3 separate regions of the Homo sapiens genome follow, and all the other regions are linked to region 2. The links are contacts of gene promoters, found by promoter capture Hi-C in blood cells and fetal thymus (Javierre and others, 2016). All regions are on one chromosome and are shown on one strand. Each heading gives the region's core, a stretch centred on a gene start or on the middle of the fragment in contact. The rest is flanking DNA. Distances are from core to core; before and after follow the strand shown. Region 1 overlaps LOC124904746 (a long non-coding RNA gene). Region 2 holds the start of KLK2 (kallikrein related peptidase 2). Region 3 overlaps MYH14 (myosin heavy chain 14).

The links. Contacts are between HindIII fragments. The CHiCAGO score rates a contact against its expected background, and 5 or more counts as called.
Region 1: a fragment that was not itself captured here is called in contact with the fragment with the promoter of KLK2 in region 2 in 4 of 17 cell types (total B cells, naive CD4 T cells, monocytes and 1 more); the score reaches 8.5 in total B cells.
Region 3: a contact is called between a fragment that was not itself captured here and the fragment with the promoter of KLK2 in region 2, in 7 of 17 cell types (total CD8 T cells, naive B cells, non-activated CD4 T cells and 4 more). The highest score is 7.6, in total CD8 T cells.

Annotation. Positions count from the first base shown.
Region 1 is chr19:50,180,716-50,184,093 of GRCh38, forward strand. All of the region lies in intron 1 of LOC124904746 (a long non-coding RNA gene), which reads right to left. Among named protein-coding and RNA genes, the nearest start is that of IZUMO2, 19 kb to the left of the region's middle. The HindIII fragment of the contact is 446 bases long and covers 1,736-2,181 here.
Region 2 is chr19:50,871,649-50,875,106 of GRCh38, forward strand. It overlaps KLK2 (kallikrein related peptidase 2), which reads left to right and starts at 1,791. Exons shown (of 5, transcript NM_005551.5): 1 at 1,791-1,871; 2 at 3,073-3,232. The coding sequence starts at 1,826. RefSeq lists promoters at 1-1,816, 1,191-1,816, 1,463-1,816, an enhancer at 1,615-1,629 and a cis regulatory region at 1,615-1,629. The HindIII fragment of the contact is 10,018 bases long and covers 1-3,458 here.
Region 3 is chr19:50,281,807-50,284,830 of GRCh38, forward strand. It overlaps MYH14 (myosin heavy chain 14), which reads left to right. Exons shown (of 43, transcript NM_001145809.2): 33 at 1-36. Among named protein-coding and RNA genes, the nearest start is that of KCNC3, 46 kb to the right of the region's middle. The HindIII fragment of the contact is 674 bases long and covers 1,230-1,903 here.

The DNA.
Region 1 (3,378 bases), core at 709-3,208, 690 kb before region 2:
AGCCTCCTGAGTAGCTGGACTACAGGTGCATGTCACTACACCTGGTTAATTTTAATTTTTTTAAAATAGAGATGAGGGTCTTGCTATGTTGCCCAGGCCGGTCTTGAACTCCTGGCCTCAAGCAATTCTCCTGCGTTGGCCTCCCAAAGTGCTGGGATTACAGGCACGAGCCACCGTGCAATCTATACAATCTGGATTTTACCAAGTCCTAGAGGTGGTTTCAGCTTTGCTCAAGTTTAAGCAGCTCCAGCTTTGCTGCTTAAAATGTGGTCCATGAAGTAGCAGCATCAGCATCACCTGGAGTTTATATTAAAAATACAGAACCTCCACCCCACCCTGGACCTGCTGAATCAGAATTTTAAGATCCCTCACAACATTAACTGCGGGAGGGATGCTGTGTCCTTGATGCATGACATCAAGAGGTCTCTGATGTCAGCAGGTCCCACAACGGGTGATACTAACTTTGATCCCATGCTTAAGATGCTGTCTACCCAGTTTCTCCTCTGTAAAGTTACTCTTTCTCACACAGAGCTCATTTGATGGCTTTTACCAACGCACATTTTTAGAGCATATGAAACTGTGAGAATCCCTGATCTAGAGAGTATTGCTCAATAACCATAGGTGTAATGACCCATGTTTGTAATAACAGCCCTGAGTCAAGGAAAGAGCTGATTAATTACGGCATCTGTGGGAGGTAATTTAGCTTAATGGGTAAGAGTTCAGACTTGGAGGCACCAAATTAGGGACGCAGGTAGCCAAAGCGCAGAGGTTTAAAACTTCTACCTTCACTGTACTTTTGTTTCCTATTCTCAGTATTCAGCTCCTTACTATGTTCTCTCTATCCCCCTGTTGCCTTGTTTTGTTGTATTTTTTTTGAAACAGGGTCTCTCTCTGTCACCCAGGCTGCAGTGCAGTGGCGCGATCTTGGCTCACTGCAACCTCTGCCTCCTGGGTTCAAGTGATTCTCCTGTCTCAGCCTCCCAAATAGTTGGGATTACGGGCATGTGCCACCACACCTGGCTAATTTTTGTAGTTTTGTAGTAGAGATGGGGTTTCACTATGTTGGCCAGGCTGGTCTCGAACTCCTGACCTCAGGTGATCCACCCTCCAGGGTCTTTCTCTGTTGCCCACGCTGCAGTGCAGTGGTGCAATCATAGCTCACTGCAGCCTTGAACTCCTGGGCTCATGCGATCCTCCTGCCTCAGCCTCCAGAGTAGTTGGGACTACAGGCATGTGCTACCATGCCCGGCTAACTTTTTGATTCTCGGTAGAGACAGGAGTAGAGGCTGGCCTCGAACTCCTGACCTCAAATGATCCGCCCGCCTTAGCCACCCAAAGTGCTGGGATTACAGGCATGAGCCATTACGCTCAGCCTTGTTCAGCATTTTTAAAAGCTTCACTGCCTGCCCAGCGTGATGGCTCACACCTGTAATCCCAGCACTTTGGGAGGCCGAGTGGGGCAGATCATGAGGTCAGCGATTTGAGACCAGCCTGACCAACATGGTGAAACCCCGTCTCTACTAAAAATACAAAAACCAGCCAAGTGTGGTGGCAGGCACCTGTAGTCCCAGCTACTTGGGAAGCTGAGGCAGGAGAATCGCTTGAACCCGGGGTGGGGGGGCAGAGGTTGCAGTGAGCTGAGATCGTGCCACTGCACTCTAGCCTGGTGACAGAGCGAGACACCATCTAAAAAATAAAAATAAATAAAAATAAAATAAATAAATAAATAAATAAAAGCTTCACCGCCTGACATTATGTCAAACATTTTATTGTTTACTTGTTCATTGTCTCTTCCATGAGAAGTTGAGATCCAGGAGGACAGACACTCTGGCTTGTCTATGGGGGTATTCTCAGTTCACAGCACAGTGCCCAGCATACGGTAGGTGCTTAAAAAATTGTGTTGAATTTTTAAAAATGTGAGCACTGGAATCAGACTCACATGAGTTCAAATCCCAGCTCTGCCCCTTACTTATCTGTCTCTAAGTCTGTTTCTGTGTTGGTGAAATTGAGATAATGGTGCTGAAAGGGTTAAAGAAATATGATGCATGTGAAGGTTTTGCCATATATGGCTTTTGAAAACCTTTTTATTTTGAAATAATTTCAGACTTAACAAAAAAGTTGCAAAAATAATGCAAAGAATTCTCATACAAAATAATGCAAAGAATTCTCACTCTTCACCCAAGCTTCTCCAAAGGTTGAAACTTTTCATAACCACAGTAAAATATTATGAAATAAACATGGTAACATTTCTGTGGACTAATCTACGAACCCTTTCCCTCCCTCCCTCCCTCCCTCCCTCCCTTCCTTCTTTCCTTCCTTCCTTCCTTCCTTCCTCCTCCTTCCCCTCCTTCCCTCCCTCCTTCCCTTCTTTCTCTCTCTCTTTCTCTTTCTTTCCCTCCCCTCCCTTCCCCTCCCCTCCCCTCCCTTCCCTTCCTTCCTTCCTTCCTTCTTTCCTTCCTTCCATCCTTCCTTCCTTCCTTCCTTCCGACAGAGTCTCACTGTGTTGCCCAGGCTGGAGTGTGGTGGCACAGTCACAGCCACTGCAGGCTTGACCTCCCAGGCTCAAGCAATCCTTGAGCCAAGACCTGGGTCACCTACTGATTTCTTTTTGTTACAGGCGTGTGCCACCATGTCTGGCAATTTTTTTTTTTTAATTTTGTAGAGATAGGGGTCTCTCGGCTGGGCGTGGTGGCTCGTGCCTGTAATCCCAGCACTTTGGGAAGCCGAGGCAGGCAGATCACCTGAGGTCAGGAGTTCGAGACCAGCCTTGCCAACATGGTGAAACCCTGTCTCTACTAAAAATACAAAAATTAGCCGGGCGTGGTGGCACGTGCCTGTAATCCCTGCTACTCCGGAGGCTGAGGCAGGAGAATCGCTTGAACCCAGGAAGCGGAGTTTGCTGTGAGCCAAGATCATGCCACTGCACTCCAGCCTGGGCGACAGAAAAAGACTCCGTCTCAAAAATACAAAAATTAGCCGGGCGTGGTGGTGGGCGCCTGTAATCCCAGCTACTTGGGAGGCTGAGGCAGGAGAATCGCTTGAACCCGGGAGGTGGAGGTTGCGGTGAGCCGAGACTGTGCCACTGCACTCCAGCTTGGGCAACAAGAGCAAAACCTCGTCTCAAAAAAAAAATAATAATAATAAATAAAAATAAAGAGAGAAATGACTGATTCATATAACAACATGGATGAATATCAAAAGCTTTACGTGGAGTGAAAGAAACACAAAAGATCATCTACTATAGGATTCTATTTATAAAAAGCTCTAGAACAGACAAAACTAATCTGTGGTGATAAAAAGCAGAACATTAGTTGCCTGGGGGTGGGTGGAGGTGCGAGTTGGCTGGGGAGAGTGTCAGGTAACTTTCTAGGACATGGA
Region 2 (3,458 bases), core at 541-3,040:
TCTATCCTGGTCTTGAATTGTGATTATCTATGTCCACTTCTGTCTCCTTCACTGTACTTGGAATTGATCTGGTCATTCAGCTGGAAATGGGGGAAGATTTTGTCAAATTCTTGAGACACAGCTGGGTCTGGATCAGCGTAAGCTGCTCTGGTTTTATTGAACAGATGAAATCACATTTTTTTTTTCAAAATCAAAGAAATCTTATAGAGTTAACAGTGGACTCTTATAATAAGAGTTAACACCAGGACTCTTATTCTTGATTCTTTTCTGAGACACCAAAATGAGATTTCTCAATGCCACCCTAATTCTTTTTTTTTTTTTTTTTTTTTTTGAGACACAGTCTGGGTCTTTTGCTCTGTCACTCAGGCTGGAGCGCAGTGGTGTGATCATAGCTCACTGAACCCTTGACCTCCTGGACTTAAGGGATCCTCCTGCTTCAGCCTCCTGAGTAGATGGGGCTACAGGTGCTTGCCACCACACCTGGCTAATTAAATTTTTTTTTTTTTTTTGTAGAGAAAGGGTCTCACTTTGTTGCCCTGGCTGATCTTGAACTTCTGACTTCAAGTGATTCTTCAGCCTTGGACTCCCAAAGCACTGGGATTGCTGGCATGAGCCACTCACCGTGCCTGGCTTGCAGCTTAATCTTGGAGTGTATAAACCTGGCTCCTGATAGCTAGACATTTCAGTGAGAAGGAGGCATTGGATTTTGCATGAGGACAATTCTGACCTAGGAGGGCAGGTCAACAGGAATCCCCGCTGTACCTGTACGTTGTACAGGCATGGAGAATGAGGAGTGAGGAGCCACCGGAACCCCATATTGTTTAGTGGACATTGGATTTTGAAATAATAGGGAACTTGGTCTGGGAGAGTCATATTTCTGGATTGGACAATATGTGGTATCACAAGGTTTTATGATGAGGGAGAAATGTATGTGGGGAACCATTTTCTGAGTGTGGAAGTGCAAGAATCAGAGAGTACTGAATGCCAACGCTTCTATTTCAGGAACATGGTAAGTTGGAGGTCCAGCTTCTGGGCTCAGACGGGTATAGGGACCAGGAAGTCTCACAATCCGATCATTCTGATATTTCAGGGCATATTAGGTTTGGGGTGCAAAGGAAGTACTTGGGACTTAGGCACATGAGACTTTGTATTGAAAATCAATGATTGGGGCTGGCCGTGGTGGCTCACGCCTGTAATCTCATCACTTTGGGAGACCGAAGTGGGAGGATGGCTTGAGCCCAGGAGTTGGAGACCAGCCTAGGCAACATAGCCAGACCCTCTCTCTACAAAAAAATTAAAAATTAGCTGGATGTGGTGGTGCATGCTTGTGGTCTCAGCTATCCTGGAGGCTGAGACAGGAGAATCGGTTGAGTCTGGGAGTTCAAGGCTACAGGGAGCTGCGATCACGCCGCTGCACTCCAGCCTGGGAAACAGAGTGAGACTGTCTCAGAATTTTTTTAAAAAAGAATCAGTGATCATCCCAACCCCTGTTGCTGTTCATCCTGAGCCTGCCTTCTCTGGCTTTGTTCCCTAGATCACATCTCCATGATCCATAGGCCCTGCCCAATCTGACCTCACACCGTGGGAATGCCTCCAGACTGATCTAGTATGTGTGGAACAGCAAGTGCTGGCTCTCCCTCCCCTTCCACAGCTCTGGGTGTGGGAGGGGGTTGTCCAGCCTCCAGCAGCATGGGGAGGGCCTTGGTCAGCATCTAGGTGCCAACAGGGCAAGGGCGGGGTCCTGGAGAATGAAGGCTTTATAGGGCTCCTCAGGGAGGCCCCCCAGCCCCAAACTCACCACCTGGCCGTGGACACCTGTGTCAGCATGTGGGACCTGGTTCTCTCCATCGCCTTGTCTGTGGGGTGCACTGGTGAGATTGGGGGGATAAAGGAAGGGGGGCGGGTTCTGACTCTTATGCTGAAGCCCTTTTCCTCCCACCCAGTGCCCCAGCCTCGTCCCTTCAGCCCACAGTTCAGCCCAGACAATGTGCCCCTGACTCTTCCACATTGCAATAGTCCTCATGCCCACACTAGGTCCCCGCTCCCTCCCACTTACCTCAGACCTTTCTCTCCATTGCCCAGCCAAATCCCTGCTCCCAGCTGCTTTACTAAAGAGCAAGTTCCTGGGCATCTCTGTGTTTCTCTTTATGGGGTTCAAAACCTTTCAAGGACCTCTCTCCATGCCACTGGTTCCTTGGACCCTATCACTGGGCTGCCTCCTGAGCCCCTCAGTCCTACCACAGTCTACTGACTTTTCCTATTCAGCTGTGAGCATTCAACCCTGTCCCCTGGACCTTGACACCTGGCTCCCCAACCCTGTCCCAGGAAACCCAGATTCCACCAGACACTTCCTTCTTCCCCCCGAGGCTATCTGGCCTGAGACAACAAATGCTGCCTCCCACCCTGAGTCTGGCACTGGGACTTTCAGAACTCCTCCTTCCCTGACTCTTTGCCCCAGACCCGTCATTCAATGGCTAGCTTTTTCCATGGGAAAAACACGAGCACCCCCAACCACAACGGCCAGTTCTCTGATTCCCTAAATCCGCACCCTTTTCAAAACCTCAAAAACAAAACAAAACAAAACAAAGCAAGAAACAACTCAGGCAGAACTGTTTGCTTAACCTTGGACATGGTAAACCATCCAAAACCTTCCTCTCCCAGCAACTAAACCTCTCCACTGGGCACTTATCCTTGGTTTCTGGAACCTCTTATTCTCTTAGAACCCACAGCTGCCACCACAGTGTCCCTTCTCCCAGTGTAAGACCCCAAATCACTCCAAATGACCCAACCCCCAACCCGATGCCTGCTTCAGATGTTTCCCATGTCCCCTACTCTGATCTCTGGGGTCAGCTCCGTTCTCAGAGCATGAAGCCTCCCGACCTGGTCCAGCCACCAACCCGCTAACGCAGGGAATAGCTACAGAATTGCCAGCCCTCCCAGGACCCCTTGCTTGTGTCCTGGACTCCCAGTCCTGGTCCTCTGCCCCCATGTCTCTTCAAACCCACAGCTCAGCTCCCTCCCCTATCCAATTCTTTTGGGTCTGATCCCCCTGACCCAGCACCCCCTCCGCAGGTGCCGTGCCCCTCATCCAGTCTCGGATTGTGGGAGGCTGGGAGTGTGAGAAGCATTCCCAACCCTGGCAGGTGGCTGTGTACAGTCATGGATGGGCACACTGTGGGGGTGTCCTGGTGCACCCCCAGTGGGTGCTCACAGCTGCCCATTGCCTAAAGAAGTAAGTAGGACCCTGGGATCTGGGGAGGGAATGGCTGTGTCCCACAGGAATAACAGCGGGATGCTTCCCCCAGGGTCACTTCTCAGGTGAGGCTTCAGACTAAAGGAGAGAGGGAAGGTCCTGGCCCAGGTCGCACCCGGAGGCAGAGCTGGGGCTGGACCACTCTCCCCATGGCTGCCTGGGTTTCTCTCTGTGTCTGATCTCGCTGTGTCTCTTGGTATCTGGC
Region 3 (3,024 bases), core at 317-2,816, 590 kb before region 2:
AGCACCCTGGAGAAGAAGCAGCGCAAGTTTGACCAGGTGGGGCACCTCAGTTCACCCAGCCGGGGAATCAGCAAGTCCATCTACGCTTCCCATGGTCGTTGTGAGGAACCAGTAATCCGTGCTGTCACGGCTCAACTAGGCAGTTGTAGTGGACCAGGAAGCAAGACCCTTCTTTGCTCTGGGCCTCTGTAAAATAGGACATCCCTCTGTCCTGATTCATGCCTCTTGCCACAGCATAATTCCTCGTAGCACCCACTTTTACTTTCAGAGCTGCCCTGGTTTTTGGATGACAAAATATACGAATACCTTCAGTACCCCAGAGATTGCTTATGAGAATTAAATCAAATAACTCATCTCACTTCTGCTGATTCACGGGGTACCTCAGGCAAGTTGCTTTTTCCATCTCAGCTTCAGTTCGCCCATCTGGAAAATGGCAATAATACCAAGCATCTGGCAGCCTGAGGATGAAATAAAAATCACAGAACCTTAGAGAGTTCAGATCAGGCAATCCTGAGGTTCAGATCCCAATTCGGCCTCTTGATGGCTGTGTGGCTTGGGCAAATTGCTCAACCTCTCTGTGCTTTATTTTATTCATTTAGAAAATGCAGTGTGAAGCTGGGCACTGTGGCTCATGCCTGTAATCCCAGCACTTTGGGAGGCCAAGGCGGGCGGATTGCCTGAGCTCAGGAGTTCACAACCAGCATGGGCAACACGGTGAAACCCCGTCTCTACTAAAATACAAAAAAATTAGCTGGGCATGGCGGTGTGCGCCTGTAATCCTAGCTACTCGGGAGGCTGAGGCAGGAGAATCACTTGAACTGGAAAGGCGGAGGTTGCAGTGAGCCAAGATCGTGCCACTGCACTCCGGCCTGGGTGATAGAGCAAGACTCCATCTCAAAAAAAAAATAAAAAATTAAAAAAAATTTTTTTAAATTGTCATTTCCCTGTAGGTGGTGCAGTATGTTTTTCTAGCTGACTTACGATTTCTCTCTTTATGTTTGGTTCTTAGTGGTTTGACTGTGATATGCCCAGCTGTGGGTTTTTTGTATTTATCCTGCTTTAGATTCACTGTGCTTCCTGTAGCTGTGGGTTGATGTTTTTGATCAAATGTGGAACATTTCAGCCATTATTTCTTCAAATATTTTTATCTCCCACTCTCTCTCCTTCCCCTTCTTCTTGGACTCCAAATACATATGATTTGATTGTAATACTCTTCCACAGGTCATTGAAGCTTTATTATTTTTGGCATCTTCTGGAATTTTATATAAATTATTTTCACATAAATCTCTTTTGGGATGGGCTTATTTTACTCAAAATAATTTTTTTTTTTTGAGACAGAGTCTCGCTGTGTCACCAAGGCTAGAGTGCAGTGGCACGATCTCAGCTCACTGCAACCTCCACCTCTCAGGTTCAAGCGATTCTCGTGCCTCAGCCTCCCAAGTAGCTGGGATTACAGGTGTGCACCACCATGCCTGGCTAATTTTTGTGTTTTTAATAGAGACGAGGTTTCACCATTTTGGCAAGGCTGGTCTCGAACTCCTGGCTTCAAGTGATCCACCCACCTCGGCCTCCCGAAGTGCTGGGATTATAGGAGTAAGCTACCGCACCCAGCCTCAAAATAATTAGTCTGAGATCCATCCATATTTTTGCATATCAATAATGTATTCCATGTATCAATAATGTATTTTTGCTGCTGAATATTATTCCTGTGGTATAGATCAGCCACATTTTGATATTCATTAACCTTTTGATGAACATTTGGGTTTTTTTCCAGTTTTTTTCTAGTTATGGATAAAACCTTAGTCTTTCTCAAAGGTGGTTTTAATTAACATTTCCCTAATGACCAGTGACGTTGAGCATCTTTTCATATGCTTATTTGCCATCCATATATCTTATTTGCTGAAGCTTCTGTTCAGATCTTTTGCCTATTTGTTAATTAATGTTGTTTGTTTTACTATTATTGAATTTTGAAAATTCTTTATGGGCCGGGCACGGTGGCTCATGCCTGGTAATCCCAGCACTTTGGGAGGCCAAGGCAGGCAGATCACCTGAGGTTGGGAGTTTGAGACCAGCCTGACCAACATGGAGAAACCCCGTCTCTACTAAAAATACAAAATTAGGTAGGCATGGTGGTGCATGCCTGTAATCCCAGCTACTTGGGAGGCTGAGGCAGGAGAATCGCTTGAATCTGGGAGGCGGAGGTTGTGGTGAGCCGAGATCATGCCATTGCACTCCAGCCTGGGCAACAAGAGTGAAACTCTGTCTCAAAAAAACAAAACAAAAAACAAAAAAAAAACAAAAAAAAAGAAAGAAGTTATTTATGTATTCTAAATGCAAGTTCTTTATCAGATATATGCTTTGCAAATATTTTTGTCCAGTCTGTGGCTTTTCTTTCCATTCTGTTAGAGTCTTTCAAAGAACAGAAGTTTTTAATTTTGTCCAATTTATCAATTTGTTGTTTTATAGATTGTGCTTTTAGTATTGTATATAAGAAATTTTTGCCTAACTCAAGGTCACAAAGGTTTTATCCTGGTTTTTTTCTTGTTTTCTTTTTGTTTGTTTGTTTGTTTTGTTTTTTGAGACGGAGTCTTGCACTGTTGCCCGGGCTGGAGTGCAGTGGCATGATCTTGGCTTACTGCAACCTCTGCCTCCTGGGGTCAAGCGATTCCTCCTGTCTCAGCCTACCAAGTAGCTGGGATTACAGGCACATGCCGCCACACCCGGCTAATTTTTTTATTTTTATTTTTTTTTTATTTTTTATTTTTAGTAAAGACAGGGTTTCACTATGTTGGCCAGGCTAGTCTCAAACTCCTGACCTTGTGATCCACCTGCCTCGGCCTCCCAAAGCACTGGGATTACAGGCATGAGCCACTGCACCCGGCCTATCCTGTTTTTTTTTTCTGGAAGTCTTCCAGTTTCAAGTTTACATTTAGGTCTGTGATTTATTCTGAGTTAATTTTTACATATGATGCTATCATGGCTCCATGTTAATTTTTGTGAATATAAATATCCAAGTATTCCAAC